Regions from separate parts of the Homo sapiens genome. Here regions 2 and 3 are each linked to region 1. Evidence: promoter capture Hi-C in 16 types of primary human blood cells and fetal thymus (Javierre and others, 2016). All regions are on one chromosome and are shown on one strand. The core of a region is centred on a gene start or on the middle of the fragment in contact, and the rest is flanking DNA. Distances in the headings are between cores, read along the strand shown.

Region 1 (3,632 bases), core at 863-3,362:
CTTCCCCGGGCCGCGGCGGAGGGGCGGCGCCCCCTGGTGGCGGAATGCGACTCCAGGGCGCAAGGGGCCGCCCACCCCGCCTCGCCCACCCGGCGGGGGCCTCCGCGCCTTTTCTGAGAAAGCCAGAGGAAAGGAGCCGAGACCGCAGTCCCCTGGGCCCGTTTCCTCGTCTGTGGAATGGCATGATTATTGCATCTCACAGGGCTGTCGTGAAGATTCAAGGAGCAAATGTATGTAAAGCGCTTCGGATGTCTGGTACATTCTGAGCCTTCAACCCACCTGAGCTGTTGAAACTCTGGGATTCAAGCGATTCGGGTCAAAGAGGAACGGTGTGACACCTGCCTCTGTCCTTTCCAAGGTGGACTCAGGGATTGCATACGTCTCATCCAGAACCCCCAGTCTCTCTTTTGTAAGCTGGCGGTCATGAGATGTAATGAGGAAAAGGTTTAAACAAATGTTGGTCCCTATCTGGGACCTCTGAAGTCACTTTTAATGGATTTGGGGATTTTACAGATTTAAAAAGGGGTGCCTACTGTGGCCCATTTATAGACCTGTGGAGCGAAGAGAAGGAGATTAGTCACACTGGGGGCCGGAGTAGAAGCCGTTTTAAATTAGTTGCCCCGCTCTGCCTTGAGACTGAGACTTTCTGACTCTCAGTTTCACCCTTGGGTTCCAGCACCCAGATGAGAAGAGAGAGAAGGTGGAAGAGGAAGAGAGGGAGGGGATAGAGCAGCGGCCACCACCTCTCCCTGAGAGGGCGCAGAGTGGGTGGTTCCCCCCAGGTGAGCAAGGTGGGGGCCCCGTGGGTGTGCTGGGTAGGGGTGGAGTGTGCTGGGAGCACGCGGGAGGACTGCGCCTCTGCTCCTCGGGGTGTGGCGCGGCCCACTCAGGAGCCCCTTCCAGTGTAGACTCCAGGAGGGTACTCTGAGCTAGGAATGCCTTCCTGAGCGTGGTTGGTGGGGGCTCTAAGGCCATTCCTCCAGGCCCTGAGGGGGCAGAGAGACACGTGAGCACTAACCCAGGAGCCGGGACTAGGCTGAGCCCACTACTCACAGCCTGGGGTAAGCCAGCCTCAAGACCCTCCAGGATGGTCTCAGCCTGCATCCGACTGCCTCTCCTGCCTGACCACTGCGCTCCTTCACAGGCCTCTGGCCGGCGAGTTCTCAAGATGTGCAAAGGTTTCCTGCTTCCTTACCTTTGCACACCTTTGCTTATTCCTTTTGCCCAGAAAGTCTTTCCCAGCACATTTGACTCTCTTGAATTCCAGTCTCTCCCGCATGGCTAGGATCAAGCCCGTTCTCCCATCGCTCATCAAATGAACTCAGAGCATAGTACTTTGCCCTGTGTTAAGGTCTTGTCTTAGCTCTGGATTATATGTCCTTGAAGGGTAGGGACCATGTGTTTGTCACCACCTGTCCTTATACACATCAGGTAGTACATAAATCAAGGGAGGCGTGAGGGACAACTGGAAGGAGCCTCGTTTTCTCCATGTACAGGATGGGACTAGTCATAGTGGCCGCACAGGGCTGTGGGAACTCTGGTGCGATTCTGCCATGAGTCACCCCATCTCCTCCTTGCCTGCAGGGTCTCGCTCCATCAGCTGTCCTCTTGGACCCCGCAGCCTCCCCATCCTGTGGCCTTTTGCCCCAGCAAATCTCTCCTCTCTGAAGCCATCCTTTCCTTGACCCTGCATCTCTCTCAGCCACCACCCCATCTCTGCCTCCTCTGAGCAAAATCGTCTTTCCCACCTCCCCAGCCCTCTGCAGACTGCCTCGGCCTTGCCTGGGCATCATCCCCTCAGCTTCAGGGACCCACAATTGGTGCTTCCTCCATTGGGAAATCTTTCCAGACTGTGCTTCCCAACCCCGACAGCCCCGCAAAGCTGGTTTAAGTGTCCCGGTGAGCAACTGTGTCCACCTAGGTTCACTACCCACAGTAGAGGGTTTTAGTGCTCAACCATATCTGCTCTTTTCTTCTCCTGAGCACACAGAATATTCTGTTCCGCTCTTGCGGCAGCTAGGCTGGGAGCAGAGTGAAGAGCGTTACTTTGGGACAAAGCATTGCTTAGCAGTGCGGGATCTTCCAGGACTTTCTTCCCCTGCCCCATCCATCATGGCAGCTTATAATGAAATGGAGGTACCTCAGGTTCCAAACAGTCTGAGTTACTGAGACACTGGTTGGGGGGGCTCTCAGGCCAATCCTCCAGGCCCTGAGCAGGCAGAGGGGCACTACTGAGCCACTGACCTGAGAGTCACCCAGATCACCACAGGTTCTGTGAGCGAGATACCATCTTTTGTTGTGTCAAGTGACTAAGATTCGAGAGGTTTGTTACCACAGCATAGCCAAGCCTTTCCCCACTGATTTACTGATTAAAGAAGTGTTTTAAATGGGTTAATGGCTTGGTAAACTGTAAAGATCTGTGCACATTTTAGTTATTATTATTGCTGTCAAGTTGTAGCAGGGCTGGAGACATGATGTGGCTGGAGAGTGGAGGAATGGCCAGGGTATGCCATGGAGAAAAACTTCCTCTCATTTATGATTTGCCAAGGGCTTTTCCAGGATCTGTTTCCATATTTAATCTCTGATGAAAGGTTATAATGAATCTGGTGTCTGGTGCTACTGGCAGGAGATGGACCTTTCTTCCAGGTATTTACTTCCTGTGGTTGCGAAAGATAGGATGTATTTCTTCTGGATTTGCTGCAATATAATATTTTAGTATCAATTTGATACTGACTGGCTTCAGCCTCCAGCTTAACTGTATCTCTCCATCTTTGAGAGTGGTTGAATAAAATCACAATATGGCTTTGTTTCTTGAGCAAGAATCTGCTAAGCAGTCACCAGATGGAGCTGTTCCCTTGAAGGTCTGTGTGCAGGATTCTCAGGGCCTTTTCTTCTCAAAACCCTTCCCTCTTTGTCTCTTTTCTCCACAACTCTCTTTAACTCATGGTGCTATAGGGATAAATTGGCCCTGTTTAATGAATAGTTGTGATGTTGTTGCTAGTTGAATAGAAGGTAAGTAAATGAACTGTTACCTGGTTCTTTTGCCTTTGTTACCCACCTTAATGGCCCTCAAGAGATTCCCCCACTTCCCTCCCATGGGCCAGTGAACATCAGTGGGAAAAGAGGGGCCTCCCCACCATTTTAGTCCATGCTGACTCTTCAGAATGACTCAGCTGGGGCAATTGGGCTGGACCAGAGAGAAGTGGACAGCCTGGTTTGAGTCTAGACCTGGCCAGCTATTATCTATGTGAAATTGGCCACAATGGTTGCTTCCTCGGGATCAGATTCCTCACCTTTACATGGGGCATCCATCATGGAGGATCACCCCAAAGGGCTTTGGGCCAAAGGATAATTGATAGAGATACGGTATTTAGTTATCACTGTATTTGCGCTTTTTCCAAGAAGGGTAAAAGAAGGATTGAATAAAAAAGGTTCCTGCACACTCTTCCTTTTCCGGCTTTTTTGTTCAGCCCTTGAGGAGCGGGATTCTGTAGGGAGAGGGAGTGGTGCAGAGGAGTGGGCTTCCTAGGACTGGGGCCGGGAGAGGGCATAGCCGCGAGTGTGCACAGGGAGGTGGGCCTAACCCTGGGGTCTCGGCTTTGTAGGGTTTCCAGGCTCAGGTGAGAAGCAGG
Region 2 (3,495 bases), core at 931-3,430, 1.2 Mb before region 1:
CATATGCTATGCTCACTTATCTATTATTTTTTCAACAGGGGTCCTATCTTTTATTTCCTATGAGTTCCAGAAATTTATTTACTAAGTATATTAGCCACTTGTCTTATTTTATACTCATATTATTCTTAGTTTTTGCTTATGATTTTTGGTTATGATTTTTGATGATGTTAGTGGTCCCACTCAAAATTTTTGTCAGTACTATAAAGACATTTGGAAATATATCAGTAGGAAAATTTCAGAGACAGGAAAAGCTAGCAATAGTGAGCTAAGCATAATGCCTTTTACCAGGATGGTAGAGTCAGAATTTTCATCTTTGGCCTGCTCAGCAATTACTGTGTTCAAGAACGGGTCCCATGTTTATCTTCTGCCTGTTTCCCCATGTATAAAATACAGATACATATTAAAATTTTATGAGACTCCTAGATGATGTCAGTATAATTAAATGCAAAGTATGCCTATAAGCTATTTTAGCATACATGTTATGTGGAAAGTACAGAACCATTTTCTTTCCTTTTATATATTTGTAGGAGATAAAAATGTAATAAAATGCATACATTATTATACTTTTATGGTAAAACTAAATTTATTATATTAAAAACACAATTCCCTAAAAGAAAAGATATTATTATTGAAAACAGATGTAATTGTATTGAATGTAATACCCTGGGAAAATTAAACAAGAAAGACACCTTAATTAATGAAAAGGATTCATTCTAAATATACCCTTTCTTTATCAGACACAGCTATGCTTTCTGAAACCTCACCCCTCTTGTTAGTTAATAGCAGAATTCACAAATGTTCTTTATGAATTTAAAGTGTTTTACTTATATCATGTTGCTTTCTTTGGATTATGAAATCATAGATTCCTTATAGACCTGGAAGATTTGAAGACCTTCTTGTCTAGTTTTATAGTTCTGAGAACTGAGGCCCAAGAAATTTCAGTATTTTCTCAAAAACTAGTTATTTACAGCTCGCGGTGGCTCATGTCTGCAATCCCAGCACTTTGGGTGGCTGAGGTGGGTGGATCACGAGGTCAAGAGATTGAGACCATCCTGGCCAACATGGTGAAACCCCGTCTCTACTAAAAATACAAAAATCAGCTGGATATGGTGGTGCGTGCCTGTAGTCCCAGCTATTCCGGAGGCTGAGAGAGGAGAATCCCTTGAACTTGGGAGGCGGAGGTTGCAGTGAGCTGAGATCACGCCACTTCACTCCAGCCTGGTGACAGAGCGAGACTCCGTCTCAAAATCAATCAACCAAACTAACTAACTAACTAGTTATTTCCAAAAAACGAATGCTAGGGCCCAGACCAGAACCTGAAATCTCTTGCTCTCTACTCTGGAGTTCTTCCATAGCTCCCACACTGAGTAAAGGAAGTTAGTAAGTAAATTCAAAGCACAGCTACCTCAAAAATGAAAAACAGAACACTTCAAAATGTGTACTTTTTAGCATAAGATCCATTATCCAAGAGCCTAATGCTTTCTTGTTCTAACACAATGATTTGATTGTGTTTCCAATATACAGGTAATAGGAGAGTAGTATCCAAACTCTAGCATGTGGAAAATTGTGTGTTCAAAAAGAGGTATAAATTATGGCTTTTAGATAGTATATTTGTCATTTACCTATAGAGTGGCTTCTGTTTTACAAGACTTTCTACCAGATGTCACAGGGCAAAACTTTTGGAGGTATTTTCCATTTGCTACTTAATAAAAAATATATGTATACATCTGAAGCCCTCTTTTAAATTTACTTCAAAGGAAAAAATATCTGCTGCAAAGACTCTTCAGATTATTTATGAAAAATGAATTGTCATTTCATCTTAGAACAAGGTAAACAAAGCCATATAAAGCATTGCTCAGAACTGTCAGAGATGCATACAGCTTTTAAATCAGAAGGGAGACTTACTGCTGCATTTTAAGCCAGTGCTTTGTTATGCCACACTATGTAAGTAATTGAAATGATGAATGAAAAACACAACGTTCTAGCATATATAGTGATAAACATGCTATCAACACTCTTGTTAACTACCGCAGAGCATGACAAATGAAACTGATCCACTGACCTTTGTGAAATAAACTACTATCTGTAGGCTGTGTGGAAAGCTTGTTAGATGGACTGTTGTTTGGACAACATATAGTTTTAGTAGCTATCAATAAAAAAGGACTCAATTAAATGCTATTAATTTAGTGACTTCCCCTGAAAACATGTTTCATCCACATAAAAGTATCTCTATAGACTTATTGGAAGATAAGAGAGTCTAAAGCTTTTTGAGAATCTTTCTGAAAATTTATCAGGAAATAAGATATTGAGTGCAGAATTGTTGAGGAACAGTCAATATATTTAACTGTATTTAACTCAGTGAGCCCAGCTTAGCAAAGCTGCTTGGTTTTTCTTTCTTTCTTTCTTTCTTTTTTTCTTGTCACACACTCTTATGGGATATTAAAGTGTTCTAATTAAATTATCATTGAGTAAACTACAGTATCAGTACTGGCAGTCATCTTTTCCATTTTCTTAAATTAAGTGTTTATTGTTTGTTCTTTGAAAACTTAGGCCAATGAATATTTGCATAGATGGCATAAATGAATTGGTGTAGGCTTTCCACTCTAAGCCCATTTCGAAGGTGAATAAGCTCAGCTGTGGAGGGAGAGTATCTTCAAGTTCCTTAGCAGGTTGAAAGGGTAAATGGCAGAAGGCACAATATCTAGAATTCAGTTGCTGGCACCAAGTCCAGAGTTCTCTCTATGACCCAATGTTAAGAATGAGTTTCATCTATAGAAGCACTGGGCAAAAGTAAAACTTGGTGTTTTCATTTTGTCACATTTTTCTTAATGGAAATAGGAACAGATATGTTAAATAACTAAATTTACCAAACAGTTCTTTTTTGGGAGTTAATTCAGCAGGAAACCTCTTATAGTTTCCCCTTTCTAGGTCAAGAGAAAAACATTCTAACAACACTAGGGGATTTTGAAGTACATATCATATCTCCCAAAAGAGAATTATGCAATCAGAAAAATGATTGCTTAACTTATGATTAAAGAAATGCAGACTACATTATGACAGCCTAGTGCATTGCCAGTCTAGCTTTGACATTAACTTGACATGTGTCTCAGTCCAGTGAGTTGATCCCACAGAATTATTTTTTTGCCCTATGTTTTATGATGCTTACAGAAAAGAATGATGTTGGCTGCACCAAGAGCAGCATGAAGGGTCTTCACTGTGCAGAGCAGTAGCATGGAGTGGGGACACATACCCTCTGCAGGGATAAAGATAGTTCCTGACGAATATCAAAATAAGGTGACCACTCTATGGTAATTACCTGGCAAATTCTGCCCCCAAACGGAACATTTTGTTAAATTAGAGAAGACAACATTTCCTAACATGAGACTGTTTAAGAATTTAACCTCAACTCTAATGGGAAATAGAAGCACAAACAGAATGACAGTGGTCACCTAGAGTGGCAACTATCACCCAGTGTTCTGAGGATTATGTCTATTC
Region 3 (3,760 bases), core at 286-2,785, 1.2 Mb before region 1:
CATAATGAAGAAAGTTCAAGTATAGAACAAACAAGGGCTTCCACTTGCCTAAATTCTATAACGAAACTCTATAGGTGATCTGGTAAAAAAAAAAAAAAAGCTGAATGAAACCAATAATAGGGCCTAAGAAGTCCTGAAAGGTGACTGAATTACTATTTAGGCACGGAAGCCTCCCCATCCCTTGAGAAAGACTGATGATGCCCTGAGGAAAACCAGTCACAGTCGCCCCTCTGTGCTGCTGTGCAAAGGGAGAGGCACCTCTCCTTCTACGTAGGTTCAAGCTTTCTTAGTGAGTCTGGTCTGCCCAACAAGGGTGCTGATGTAATGAAAGAGGGCCAATCATGAGCAAAGAATTCCTCATTTTTAAACCTTTATCTGGAATATTCCTACTCAGCCAGCCTCTCCCGGACTCACCCTATTTCAGTTCCCATTCTTCGTTGTAGGAGATTTCTCCCGGGATTTTTCTCCTTCCATGAAGTGAGGCTGGTCAAATTAAAGGCATTAAAGAAGAACCCCTGGAAAAGCAGTGCAGGAGCCTGGCCGTTTCCCTCTAATGCACCTTCTCCAGTCAGTAACACCGAGAGGCACAGTGCCTGTGCACCTCACTAAGCATGACTTCCTGCCTACCTTCCCAGCCTACAACTAAGTATGTTGTTAGCATAGCTTGCTCCAAATCCAATCATTTCATACATCAAAACCATACATTTTGAGCTTCATAATTTCTTATAAGAGGCCTGAATAGTGTGAGAAGCCAGTGAACACTATCTTCAAATAACTCTGTGGATACCATCTGCACACAGGGAATAATTATTGACAGGAAAGTGTTTCCCCATGGAGCTTCCAAGCTGCTCAGGAGAGGCTTTTCTAGATTCATCTTTTGGGAAGGATGGGGTAGTCATCAGGGTAGGCGAAGGAAAAATCTGAAACAAAGGCTCCAACAGCCCTTGTTTGTGGTGTGGAGCCCATCCCCACTGCCATACCTCTTGACAGGCATGAAAGAAACAAATAATAAAATAATAAGCAACTGGAATAAGAAAAGTTTAAGTAAAATAAAGCCAAAGTAGAGACTAAAATTATTAAATTTAAGAAATTAAAATCCTCATTTCTTTAATAAGAATAAAATTTTTAAAAATGTACAATATAAAATTTTACTAAAAGGGGATAAACTGAAATCTAAGCAAAAGTAATAAAATATGAAATAAATGGGGAGGAAAACATTAAGAAGAGTTTAAAATTGGAAAAGAAAAATAAATGTTAAAGTGTAAGAATAATGTATACAATGTTTTATTAAAAAGTAAGGTTTTTGTTTGTTTGTTTTTGAGACAGGGTCATACTCTGTCACCCAGAAAGTTTCTTTAATGTAAAGAAAAAACAAAATGGTTTTATGGATCAAAGATAAGAATTAGAAAAAATAATGTAACAACAAATAACATATTACCAAGTAAGATAAAAAAACTACTCAATCATTAAGTAATAAGATAAGATATATCCTTAATAAATATAAAAACAGGGAAAGAAAAGGGAAGGGGTGGATAGCAATGAAACCCTACTGAAGGCAATCAAGTTGAAGAACTCCTTAAACATATTCTGGATGAAGGCTCATTGACCAGGTAGTTCCCTGTTCACCCGGCCACTAGGCAAAGTCTTAAGGGTCTACAATGGGTTATGCTACAGGGAAACTGGTGAAACTTAAGGCCTTACATATATCTATACACAGTTAAAGTCAGAGTTGGTCCACAATTAAAAAAGCAAAATGCTTTGGAAAGGTTAAATTTAGACAGTAAATCTAGAAAGAAAAATTAGCCTCTTATTAAACTTATTTTGTCCTTTATCTCTATATCTAACTGGTGAAAAAAAATCTTTACTTGCAGACAAGATTCATTAGCATGATTATATTCACATTATAAGAACATTGTTCACTTTACTGGGTCTATTTAAATAGTAAGCTCCTCAAAAAATGTAAATTATGATTCAACACCTACACAAGTGATCAAGTACATGAACTTTATATGTAAAATACATAGTTCAAATACCTCTCAGTTTGTATCCAAAGAAAGAAAAGAATGAAGGTTAATGTTGATTATTGAAATTAGGGGTTATCAACTTTTTCTGTAAAAGGCCAGATAGTAAACAACTCAGGTTTTGTAGGACACATGGTTTCTGTTGTAAAGATTCAACTTTGCTATTATAGTATGAAGGCAGCTGTAGAAAATACACGAATGGGCCAGGTGTGTTGGCCTACGCCTGTAATCCCAGCACTTTGGGAGGCCAAGGCAGGGGGATCACAAGGTTAGGAGATTGAGACCATCCTGGCTAGCACAGTGAAACCCCATCTCTACCAAAAATACAAAAAATTAGCCAGGCGTGGTGGTGGGCGCCTATAGTCCCAGCTACTCAGGAGGCTGAGGCAGGAGAATGGTGTGAACCTGGGAGGTGGAGCTTGCAGTGAGCCGAGATTGCGCCACTGCACTCCAGCCTGGACGACAGAGCAAGACTCTGTCTCAAAAAAAAAAGAAAAAAAAATTTATATATATATGAATGAATGAATGTGGCTGTGTTCCAATAAAACTTTATTTACAAAAGCAAACTCCTGGCTAGATTTGGCCCTTGGGCTATATTTGCCAAACTCTGATTAAAATAAGCTAAAAATTAAGGTGTTGATCATATGACCTATGAAACAAGTCTAACAGCTTAAAACTTTTAATTATTTTATTTAAGTGTGAAACAGTTGTAGAATTTATTGAATTTCATGGATTTTTTTATTATAAGGATGCAATAAAATTTATCTTTGAAGCTTATTTGGCAAACTCAATTCTATTTACAGTTTACTGCTTATAATAAATTACATTTTTTTTCAGCTTACCTTGGTAATGTTAAGTGAATAAATAAAATAACTAAAGAACTTTTCTCAATTTCCCATTTTCTTACAGTGAGGTATTGATTTTCAACATCTATTGGAAAATAAACAGCATGGAAAAAATATCCCATTGTCTCGCACATTCTCTTAAGTTTAGGTGAATAGTCCTAAAAACAAATGAAAACATACAAAAGTTTAATGTATTTAACTAAAGATCAAGTGAGATTCATACTACTTAAAATAAAAAGCACGCTTTAAAACAGGTTATACTGGATATCTTTTCATATAAAATTTTAAAAATAATCACATTTTAAAGAAAATCTTAAAAAGGCAAGTTTCTCTCAAATACAAATAATAATAGCTTAGCAACTTGGCCTTTTTCTAGCTCAGAAAATGACTTATTTCATAGTAAAGCTAGAACAACAGGAGACAGTATTAGGCTATTTTGCTTTGGTATTTGTTTCTTTTTGTTATTATTACTATGAACAATCTGTTTTATTGTCATAAAGAGTGCAAAATATAGATCCATAAATCTGTATAGTAAAAAACATCCACGATGATATATCAGAACGCTAAAGCAGAGCGATATAAGTTAAAAACACATAAATCTATAATTAAGTTAGTAAGTAATGATGACTATTATTATGAAAGAAATCAGTAATGCCCTCAAAATGTCGTTGGGAATAACATTTTCAATTACTGGATGGAAGCTTTGGGCTTTAAAATATTTTATCTTTTTACTAAAATTGAATAATATCACAAAGGAAAGCTAAATGAATTTGGTAATCAACAACAGGGAAGATGTTAATATAGCAGGTATAGCATGTGACACACAGATTCTATAAAATTCCCTTGGAACACTGGTAGGCAAGCTTTTTATATAAAGGGTTAGATAGCAAATAT

Evidence for each region. Contacts are between HindIII fragments. The CHiCAGO score rates a contact against its expected background, and 5 or more counts as called.
Region 2: a fragment that was not itself captured here is called in contact with the fragment with the promoter of C3orf36 in region 1 in 7 of 17 cell types (naive B cells, total B cells, non-activated CD4 T cells and 4 more); the score reaches 9.6 in naive B cells.
Region 3: a contact is called between a fragment that was not itself captured here and the fragment with the promoter of C3orf36 in region 1, in 2 of 17 cell types (total B cells and naive CD8 T cells). The highest score is 8.1, in total B cells.

The regions. Positions count from the first base shown.
Region 1 is chr3:133,927,700-133,931,331 of GRCh38, forward strand. It overlaps C3orf36 (chromosome 3 putative open reading frame 36), which reads right to left and starts at 2,113. Exons shown (of 1, transcript NR_161373.1): 1 at 446-2,113. RefSeq lists a silencer at 1-271. The HindIII fragment of the contact is 5,965 bases long and covers 1-3,632 here.
Region 2 is chr3:132,751,120-132,754,614 of GRCh38, forward strand. All of the region lies in intron 3 of NPHP3-AS1 (NPHP3 antisense RNA 1), which reads left to right. Among named protein-coding and RNA genes, the nearest start is that of NPHP3-ACAD11, 30 kb to the left of the region's middle. The HindIII fragment of the contact is 161 bases long and covers 2,101-2,261 here.
Region 3 is chr3:132,710,263-132,714,022 of GRCh38, forward strand. It overlaps NPHP3 (nephrocystin 3), which reads right to left. Exons shown (of 27, transcript NM_153240.5): 6 at 2,864-3,024. NPHP3-ACAD11 (NPHP3-ACAD11 readthrough (NMD candidate)) reads right to left here. Exons shown (of 45, transcript NR_037804.1): 6 at 2,864-3,024. Among named protein-coding and RNA genes, the nearest start is that of NPHP3-AS1, 9.6 kb to the right of the region's middle. The HindIII fragment of the contact is 2,513 bases long and covers 280-2,792 here.